2 separate regions of the Homo sapiens genome follow, and region 1 is linked to region 2. The links are contacts of gene promoters, found by promoter capture Hi-C in blood cells and fetal thymus (Javierre and others, 2016). All regions are on one chromosome and are shown on one strand. Each heading gives the region's core, a stretch centred on a gene start or on the middle of the fragment in contact. The rest is flanking DNA. Distances are from core to core; before and after follow the strand shown.

Region 1 (5,176 bases), core at 250-2,749, 5.0 Mb before region 2:
TCCCTCATTTTAAAAAACAGCGAGAAGAATAATCAGGCTTCCACGTTTTGGGTTAGCCTGTTACAGATGACCCAAGTATGCAGAAATAAAATAAACCAGTGAAACTCCAAGGCCAACTGCTGCAAACCTTGGCTATCAATGAAAGTTGTATCCAAAGTACTAGAACGAACAGTCCCCACTAGAGACATAATGGCGGTTAGCTTCCTGCCAGGCACCTTCTAGCTAGTATCTCTCTCCAGCCACCAAATATCTTAAGACCAAGCGGCCCTTACCTTCTTTCGTCTGCGCATTGGTGATCTGCAGGTCGCAGTCGGCAGCTTTCAGCTTCTCTCTCCCCATAATCTGCTTCTTTAAGTCGCAGAGGGAGATGTGGAGCCCATCAAAGGTGACGGTATCATAGTTGAGTTTAGAGGAAAATTTATAATGCACACAGGACATGGTGCCAAGGGATTCCTAAGGTTCAGCGAGGAGACGTGGACACTCTCAATATACGTATATTTATAAACTTTAAGAGCAAAATATGTACACACAAAACACTCAAAGACACCGAAGGACCCTAAGGCCTCAGATTAAATACCCCCCAACCACAAGCAGGGGTTCGTCAGAACAATAATCCAGAGACCCCCCGATACTCAGAATCACTTCATGGGGGAGGAGGAGGACGAGGACGGGGAAGAGGGGAAATCGAGAATCCGCCAACGGGCACAATGTCACCCGGCTGGGTCCCCCTCGCTCATGCTAAGGGGCCGGCAGAGACGGGGGGATTGGCGGTGCAGTCAGTAGCGGTCAGTCCACACGTTAAGAGTCCGAGCGACCCCACGGGGTCAGGGGTCCATAGCGCGGCCGCACCTCCCGGCGGGTCTCTCTCTCCGTGGATTGGGGTGACCCAGGCCCCGGGAGAAGGTTGAGGGGAGAGGGCCTAGGCCCGGAGTCCACGAGCGGCCTCACGCCTCCTCCTGGCTTCCGGACGACCGGCGTCAGCTTCCCCAGGCCCAGGCCCAGGCCCCCACCGCACACAAACCCCTGGCGCCTGCTCCCCGGAGGCCACGAGCGGCCCCACGGCCTAGGCCGAAAACGCGCGGTCGGCGGAGGAGAGGCCTTCCCGCAGGCCGCCCCCGGCTCCGCCTCCCCCCGCCGCCGCCGCCGCCTCGGACACAAAGCCGGCGCTAGGCCTCGGCGAGGCCTCGGAGCACTTCCTCACCACCCCGGGCCCCAGCCGGCGGCCGGGTGGCTTCGGCGGACCCCGGGGACACCGCCGAGGCTCCCTGACGCTTCTTCTCGCCGGATCCTCCGCGCTTCGCTCGCCTTTCGTTTCCGTCGCCTTGAGGCCCGGAACCGCGAGAACACGCCCGCAAGCTGCTGGGCAGCGGCTAGGGCTTCTCCGGCTCCCTTTTTGTGTTGGCCCCCTGCCGCTCGGGGGCTCTCACCGAGCGGCGGCGACACCTCCAAGCCAGGTACTATGGCGGACGCGGCCTGGCTTCGGACGAGCGCCCCACTGCGGGGTCTCTTAAGCAGGGATTGCACGGGCGGCGCGCGCGAGGCGGGGCTGGCGTGCGCGGATAGGCGGGCCGAGAGGCGGGGCGGCTGACGTCACAAAGCGCACGGCCCGCCCACGTGACCCCGCGCTTTGTGACTCCAAAGCGCGGAAACTGAAAGAGCAGGGACAACGGGAAGAACCATCTGCTTCAAAAGGGAGGGGGGTTGCGCGTCAGGAGGACCGGCTCACAGGGAGGCTCGGTGGGGAGAGCTCGCCTTGCAGGGGCTGCGTGCAGTTTCCACTGCAAAGTGGCTTGCCTAGGGGTGGCCGGCTAACTCCCCCTTCCCCACAGGCCCCGTCAGCTCCTCTAAGCCTCCCAATTTAAGTGAGCATTATGGTTGCTACGCAGAAAACTATGGTTGCTATGCAAGCGCTCCCTAGCTGCTGCTTCCAATAAACTGGCTACCCTATACTCTTGACAAGTGGAAATCGTGGAGCAGCCGCTGCCAAGAACTGATAACAGCCACCAGCACCATACAGATTTATTGAGCTCTTACTATGTGCTAGGCACAGGGCTGATCGCATAACAACATTGCCAGGCTCAGCAGCCACGTTGTCTGGGTTGGATCCCTGGCTGTGGGGGCTCTAGATTTAACCCCTCTGTGCCTGGGTCTCCTTGGCTGTAAAATGCCATTAAAAATAGTACTTGGTTTACTTGGATTAAATAAATGCACATAAATCCATAGTCTAAGACCATGCCGGTGCATTGACGTGGCTCAATGCACCGAAATATTAATAGCTGTAGCTCAATAAATGTCAATTTAACAACAAAAACCCTACGTGGTCAACATGACATTATTTCCGATTTATAGATGATGGAACTGAAGCTAGCAATCATGTACTTTCTGAATTTGCAGAAGGGGATGCCTGCTCAGTGGCAGGGTCCCGATTCCATTCCTAAGCGCAAATGCCAGGAACAGTGACAAGAACCCCCTCAGTAGATTGGAATTTTTTTTTTCCTTTGGGCATGGGGACGTTATTACATTCAGAAAAAATCATAATATAATAAAATTACATTCATAAACGATAGTTATTATCGTTTACAATCCATGTTCCTCATCCTCTCTGAATTTTACAGGCTAGGCTCAGTGAATTTAGGCAACTGAGAATAAGATCCTATAGCCGAGAAGTAGCAGAGTTTCCCAGGGACTTCCTGCAAGCACACTCCAAATTCTTACTGAACTTGATTTAAAATTAATCACCATCCTGCCAGAAAAGCCTTCCTAAGGCCATCTTTTTAAAATAAGATGGCGATCTTTCTCTATCCCTTTAGTCTTTTCTTCCTAGCACTTGCAGATAGTTGACAGTTACACATTTACTTTTTAATTATCTATCTCCCCCAACCCCTACCTTCGGCTGACAATAGGAATCTTATCTTTATATTTGTTTTTGCTGTATCCTCAGCTCTTAGAACATAGTAGGTGCTCAATAAATACGTGCTGAATAACTGGATACATTTTTACGTGATCCATAGAGATGTCGTGGCAATAAAATTTTGGCCGTAGTCAAGGGCAGCTCTAGAGATACCATTACAATTTAACTCAACCACACACATCAGTACTTTTCATATATAACAAGTTTCTTCCACTTTTACCTCTTTGTTATTTCACCAAAAACTTATTGCTGCCAGGTCCTCTTCAGGTTGGTTGCTTTTTTCTTAAAAGCCTCTGTGTGAATGAAAGGGCGAGGGCTATCTCTAGTGAAAGAAAAACTCGACGAGAAAATTGCAAGCCGTCATGGAATTCACTCCGAAGCGGTGAATCTGTTCCTTTTGCCCGTCTGTGGCCGACCCCTTTATATACTGAATGCCTAATTTAATCAGCGTGGTGCATCATGGGATCTCAAAGTGGGCCACACCCTCAGGATATGACAGAGTGGATCATAACCTAATCTGCAGGGGGGGATGTCCTTGGAAAGAATGTTGTCTATTGGTCCAACCGTTCTCATCTGCCAAAAACTTTGTTCAACCTTGATATTCTCACTTACAGAGGCCTCACTTCATATCACATCAAACAGGTCAAAATGCATTCACCACCTGCAATAAGCCTATGACTTGAGTTGCCTGACTAATTGACACAATGCTACATTTGGTCCATTTCACTGAATTCCTTTACTAATCTTCATTTTGCAGTTTTCTTTTTTTAAAAAAAAAACTTTTTATTTTCTTTTTTCTTCAGTGAGCTGAATTGTAAATTTTGCCGTTTTCTTTGGGTAATATGGAGCTGGTCTCCCTGACGCTTCTCTCCCTACCAATATTTTTGTAAGCCCTGAAAAAGCCTTTTGTACTATCCTACAGTGAATGAAGCATTCCTGTCTAAGCTTCTCATAATGTAACAATTCTGGAGCTCCCATGTCCCAGGATTTCAAACCTTTGTCATTCTCAAACCCAGTATAGCCTCATACCATTGACCATAGACAGTTAGTAAACCCCTTAACTTATTTTCTTATGTCAAAATTCAGTTCCAGCAAGCGGAATTGGGAGATCCAAGGAGCTCTGCCTGCCTGCTGTCTGTAGTGAACTACTCAAGCTCAGGAAGTCGGAATGAGATCTATTTCATGGAGGCTGTTCTCTTTTTGTTTGTTTAATTATTAGTAGTATTATTTTGGAGTCCGGGTCTTGCTCTGTCACCCAGGCTGGAGTGCAGTGGTGCAATCACAGTTCACTGTAACTTTGAACTCCTGGGATCAAGTAATCCTCCTGCTTCAGGCTCCTGAGTAGCTGGGACTATAGGCTTGTGCCAACATGCTCAGCTAATTTTTAGTTTTTTCAGTAGTGTCAGAGCCTCACTATGCTACCCACCCTGGTCTCAAACTCACGGCCTCAAGCAGTCCTCCCGCCTTGGCCTCCCAAAGTGCTGGGGTTACAGGACTGAGCTTGTGCCTGGTCCCACGGAAGCTGTTCTATGCTTGTATATTGAATGTAATCTTAAAAATGCACTAACAAGGCCAGGCATGGTGGCTCACGCCTGTAATCCCATTACTTTGGGAGGCCCAGGTGGGTGGATCACCTGAGGTTAGGATTTCAAGACCAGCCTCGTCAACGTGGTGAAACTCTGTCTCTACTAAAAATACAAAAATCAGCCTGGCGCACTGGCGCACACCTGTAATCCCAGCTACTGGGGAGGCTGAGGCAGGAGAATCACTTGAACCCAGGAGGCGGAGGTTGTGGTGAGCCGAGATCTTGCCACTGCACTCCAGCCTGGGTGACAGAACGAGACTGTACCTCAAAAAAAAAAAAAAAAAAAAATAGTTCTAAGCCTCTGTGTTGTCAGTCCAATTCACAGAAGGTAGATACATCCCTTACATCACACTGTATTTTCTCCAGAGAGTTGATTGCTTTTATGTTGCCTTTCTATTTTATTTAATATTTCAGCCTACAGTTGTTGGGGTATTTTTTATTTTTTTGCAGTTTATGTAATACAGCCCATCGACCGGCAGGGTGCTGTGGCTCATGTCTGTAATACCAGTACTTTGGGAGGCTGAGGTGGGAGGATAGCTTGAGCCGGGGAGTTTGAGGCAGCAGTGAGCTATGATCGTGCCACTGCACTCCAGCCTAAGCAACAAAGGGAGAACCTGTCTCCAAACAAACAAACAAAAGTCCATTGACCTTTCTCCCTTTATGGTTTTTGCTTTTGCTTT
Region 2 (5,572 bases), core at 430-2,929:
CAGCACGCTGCACGCCGGGAAACGTAGTCTTCCTTGCAAGCTAGAGACTAGAATTTATTAATAAATTTACTTATTTAGTAGAATAGGAACACCCCTCAGGGTCTGAAGCCCCCTGAAGTGTTCCTTGAAGTTGCCATTTTTTTCTTATCTGTATAAAGATAACCCCTTTCTATGCAGCCGTTAGAAAACATGTAACATTCACCAAAATATTTTCTTGTAGGTAAAAACTTGCTGAACCCACCGGGCGTGATGGCTTACGCCTATAATTCCAACATTTTGGAAGCCGAGGCGGAAGGATCGCTTGAGCCCAGGAGTTCGAGATCAGCCTGGGCAACAAAGGGAGACGGCATCTCTACAAAAATTTTAAACGTTAGCCGGGTGGGGTGGCGCGAGCCTGTGATCCCAGCTACTCGGGAGGCTGAGGTCGGAAGATCGCTTGAGCCCAGGAGGTCGACGTTGCAGTGAGCCATGATTGCACCACTGCATTCCAACCTGGGCGATAGAGTGAGACTGTCTGAAAGAAAAAAAAAAAAAGGCTGAATCCTAGATGCCAACTGGAAGGCTTAAGACATCTATCCCCTTTTGCAAATCAGTGGGAAAATGCACTAAAGGAAAAAAAGGTAACAGAAAAATCCCTGAATATTTTTGCAAAGTTCTCTACATAAAAATGTTACCAGCCCTCCAAAATATGTCCAGGGGCCCCTTTTCACTCCCTAACTCGGCTTCATGGTCTATCTCTCTTACCCTCCTTCCAGTGCCTGTTTTTGCATATGTAAAATGGGGGTTTTAAAAGTGCCTATCACAAGGGTGGTTGTGAGGCACAGTTGAGGTAACTCCTGTACAGTGCCTGGTACAAAAGCCCTTAGCAGAAGTAAGATTAGGGGGAGGAGGAGTGAAAATGTCACAAATCACTGGGGAGGCCTTTATGTCAGTCCCCACCCTGCCATTAACTGCTTAATTCACCTATCCTCAGTTTCCGCATCTATGAAATAAGGGAATCCTTAAAACCCCTTCCAGTTTTATAATCCGATTGTGCCTTCTTTGCTAGGCTCTTCCAGTCCCCCAGAATCTGGAAAATAAAGTCGATTGAAATCAGTCTCCTGATAGTAACTGTTAGGCTGTATTGAGAATGAGATAAGCATATAAAGTGTTTGCTCGTCAAGTACCTGGGACATGGTAAGTGCTCTGTAAACGTTAGGTGTACTTGCTAACTTTTATTTCCTCCCACAAGAATGTGAATCCCATAAGAGCAAAAACCCTGTAGGTCCTGTTCAACTGTGTCCGGAGCACCTGGACCGGTATTTGGCACATCTTGAATTGAACTGAACTGAACTGAATTGAATTGAATTGAATTGATAGTCTAAGCATCCTGCCTCTCCAGGTTCCCTGGAATTCAGTTTCCTCAAGGGCAGATAAAGGAGTCACTAAAATCCCTTCCAGTCCTACAGCTTTAGGATGGTTCTTATCCCTCCTTTTCTCGCCTAGGAGTCTGAACGCCCAGGTTGAAGTTCAGACCTCGGAAAACCCTAACCCACCTTAGATTTGGAACGTGAGCCTGGGGCCTGGGGCCTGGGCCCTCCCCCGTTGCCATGGAGCGGCTCCGCCCACTGGCGCTGCGAATCCCGATCCCTGATTGGCTGGGCGGCCGACTCCCTCTCTGGATGTGTCTGCTGCCGCCATTGTGCGGCGCTGGTCCCCTCAGAGGGTTCCTGCTGCTGCCGGTGCCTTGGACCCTCCCCCTCGCTTCTCGTTCTACTGCCCCAGGAGCCCGGCGGGTCCGGGACTCCCGTCCGTGCCGGTGCGGGCGCCGGCATGTGGCTGTGGGAGGACCAGGGCGGCCTCCTGGGCCCTTTCTCCTTCCTGCTGCTAGTGCTGCTGCTGGTGACGCGGAGCCCGGTCAATGCCTGCCTCCTCACCGGCAGCCTCTTCGTTCTACTGCGCGTCTTCAGCTTTGAGCCGGTGCCCTCTTGCAGGGCCCTGCAGGTGCTCAAGCCCCGGGACCGCATTTCTGCCATCGCCCACCGTGGCGGCAGCCACGACGCGCCCGAGAACACGCTGGCGGCCATTCGGCAGGTGAGACCCCCACGTTCGCGCCCCTCGGTCCTCCCGAGAGCTCGGACTTCTACTTTTCCTTCCCAGGGTTCCCCGATCTTCTCAGGACGGCCTTCCCACTTCCTCATTCGTCCACAAGGCACACTCCCGGCCCTTGATCGCTCCCAGTGTCTAGGGATCTCCGGACTTGAGGTTTTATATTTACAGAAGACAGCAGATATGTATATAGTTTCTGTGCGCCTGACGCTAAGGTTACATACAGCCAGGAACAAGGTCAAAAGTGTCCCTGGTTTACAGAGTGTACATCGGAATGGGGGAGGCAAGCCTTAAACAAGTAAACACATAAATGAGATAACTTTAAGAGAGTGAAAGGTGCAATGAAGAAATCGGGGGAACTCGAAGGAAAGAGTTACGCTATTTTATTTAGATGGAATAGTCAAGAGAAATCGTCTCCGAAGAAGCAACATTTGAACAGAAACCGGAATTATAAGGAGCCAGGCAGGTGCAGAAGGTCCTGAGATGGGAATAATATAGGGGTGTTCAGGTAACAGAAGAGGCAGTGTGTGGCCTGACTTCAAGGAAGAGAACAAAGACTGGTGTGTGAATGAAGTAGAAAATGGGTCAGGTCAAATAGGTTCTTGGTCAGTAATTGAGGTTAGTCTAAATAGATCACCCTTCACAAGACATACGTTTGCTTGTCTTGTAAATCACTTGAGTCATTTCCTTATCACCTTTTCCCCAGACACACACATTCGCACTCGCACAACCCTGGCAGCTGGACTCACATCAGTTTCTGCCCCCTCCTTTTCACAAGGCACTCCTGAAACTTTTGATACCTCCCAGCTCTTGGCATTCTCCTAGCTTCATAATAATGACAGCTTACAGAGAGGGCTTTTCAGTGGATTAGGCACTTTTGCATCTGTGTAAATATATCTGATTCTCTTCTTTTTTATTTTTCTCTCTCTTCTTCCTTCCTTCTTCTTCTTTTTTTTTTTTTTACTTTACAGAGTCTCACTCTTTTACCCAGGCTGGAGGGCAGTGGTGCAATCTCCACGCACTGCAACCCCTGCCTCCCGTGTTCAAGCGATTCTCGTGCCTCAGCCTCCGGAGTAGCTGGGATTACAGGCGTGTGCCACCACGCCCAGCTAATTTTTGTATTTTTAGTAGAGATGGGGTTCTGCTATGTTGGCCAGACTGGTCTCAAACTCCTGGCCTCAAAGTGATCCACCCGCCTCGGCCTCCCAAGGTACTAGGATTACAGGCATGAGCCATCATGCCTGGCCTCCCTCATTTCCTTTTTTTTTCTTTTTTTTTTTCTTTTTTTTTAAACGAAGTCTCACTGTCTCCCAGGCTACAGTGCATCGGCGCAACCCCAGCTCACTGCAACCTCTGTATCCCAGGTTCAAGTGATTCTACTGCCTCAACCTCCCGAGTAGCTGCGATTACAGGCATGAGCCACCGTGCCCGGCCAAGATTTATACTTTTAAAGCTGCACTCTGGCCCATGTGGAGAATGTACTGTGGGTGTAATTTCATTCCTTTGCCACTGTTTATAGTAGTGTATCTGTTTTTGGAATACACTCAACTCACATTTATCAAGTTTTTCCTTCTATATCTCATTTATAATCTACCAGAAATTCTAGCACTGTCAGAAATGTATATATGTATGTATACATTCGACTTTACCAATAATTTTATTTATTTATTTATTTTTGAGACAGGGTCTCTCTCTGTCACCCAGGTTTGAGTGCAGTGGGGCGATCTCAACTCACTGCAACTTCCACCTCCCAGGTTGAAGCGATTCTTGTGCCTCAGGCTCCCAAGTAGCTAAGATTACAGATGTACTCCTCCACTCCCAGCTAATTTTTGTTTTTTGTTTTTAGTAGAGATGGTGTTTTGCCATGTTGGCAAGGCTGGTCTCAAACTCCTGACCTCAAGTGATCCACCTGCCTCAGTGGATTACAGAGTGCTGGGATTACAGGCAAAGTGCTGGGATCACAGGCATGAGCCACTGCCTGGCCAGCTTTACCAGTACTTCTATGTTATTCCAGTAATTGAGATAAAAAGATGAATCCCTGGTTCTAATTCACATATTAGTATATATAGGAGATATTGCAAGTTCAGTTCCAGACCTGAGTAAATAGTCAATAAAGCAAATATAGTAATAAAGGGAGTCACAAATTTTTTGGTTTCCCAGTGCATATAAAAGTTATGTTTACACTATATTGTAATCTATTAAGTATTGTGTATGTATATATATATATATATATATATATGCACATACACACACATATATAGGTTTTCATCCATGGTTCCTGGCTCATAACTCTCAGCCCTTGCTACAGTATTTTGTTAGGCATCCTAGGCCTTAGGAGCAGGCCTTGGGAAACAGAATCTCTCCTGCCCTCCTTTCACCTACCCCAAGGCAGGACTGGAATCTTTCCCTGTCTTTCAAATTGTGAGTCTTAAGACCCTCCTCAGAGAGGGACCCCACCCTATACCCTGGGGGAAGGAATGCTGACATCATGAAGCTTCCATAAAAACCTAAGAGGAATTAAAAAAATAAAAACTAAAATAAACCTAAGAGGACTTGAAGCCAATTGGTCAGAAGTTCCATAGGCCCCAGCTTGCTATTTGTGTCTGGAGGAGGGTGGGGTGCAGTCTTGGGGACCAAGCCCTCAACCTATGATCTGACACTATCTCCAGGTAGATAGTGTCAAAATTGAGTTGGAGGATACCCAGCTGGTGTCCACTACTTATTGGTGGGGAAAAACCCCCACATTTTTGGTCACAGACGTCGGGGTTGATTGTTGTGAGAGCAGAGGGAAAATGTGATGTGTTTTTCCAAAATAGTCGTACATCTGTATCACATGGGAAAAGGAAAAGATTTAAATAAAGCAGAAAAATCTCCACCCATAAAGGACGTTATTGATAAATTTGACTATATTACCTTTAAAGATGTGTTTAAAAGGACATAATAAATAACAATGGCTAACATTTATTGAAATCTTAACTATTCACTAGCACAGTGCTCTGTGTTGTTTATGGGTACTTAAATAAAAACCGGTAAGGGAGTGACATGAGAATGATATACACCAACTTTAAGATGGTAATTACCTCTGGAGAGGAAAGGAGGAGAATGAAAGGGAGAATTTCAGCTGTATCTGTAGTGTTGATAGTAAAACTGAAGCGGATAAGAGTGCAACTTCTACTGCATCCTAGCTTGTGCAGCCCTGGGCAAGTTTCCTACTCTTTCTTTGTCTCAGTTTTCTTATCTGTTAAATGAGAATATTAATAGTACCTGCTTCAGGGTTGTGAGGATCAAATAAGTTAATACATTTAAAGCACTTAGAAGAGTGCCTGGCAAGTAGAAAAGGCTCAATAAATAATAGTTTTTGTTTTTGTTTTTGTTTTAGTACAGAAAGAGACTGAGGAAATTAGGTCAAAATATTCACATATGTTAAATCTTTTTTACTGTAGATGTTTGCAATAGACCATGACTTAAAATATTTTTTAAAAAA

The links. Contacts are between HindIII fragments. The CHiCAGO score rates a contact against its expected background, and 5 or more counts as called.
Region 1: the fragment with the promoter of RBBP6 here is called in contact with the fragment with the promoter of GDE1 in region 2 in 1 of 17 cell types (non-activated CD4 T cells); the score reaches 5.3 in non-activated CD4 T cells.

What each region holds. Positions count from the first base shown.
Region 1 is chr16:24,535,889-24,541,064 of GRCh38, reverse strand. RBBP6 (RB binding protein 6, ubiquitin ligase) reads right to left here and starts at 1,499. Exons shown (of 18, transcript NM_006910.5): 1 at 273-1,499. The coding sequence starts at 438. RefSeq lists enhancers at 1-841, 842-1,836, 3,263-3,557 and silencers at 1,053-1,232, 1,503-1,552. The HindIII fragment of the contact is 3,955 bases long and covers 1-3,858 here.
Region 2 is chr16:19,518,205-19,523,776 of GRCh38, reverse strand. It overlaps GDE1 (glycerophosphodiester phosphodiesterase 1), which reads left to right and starts at 1,679. Exons shown (of 6, transcript NM_016641.4): 1 at 1,679-2,073. The coding sequence starts at 1,813. RefSeq lists a silencer at 1,718-1,887 and enhancers at 1,998-2,167, 1,478-2,212, 2,338-2,397. The HindIII fragment of the contact is 7,297 bases long and covers 1-4,584 here.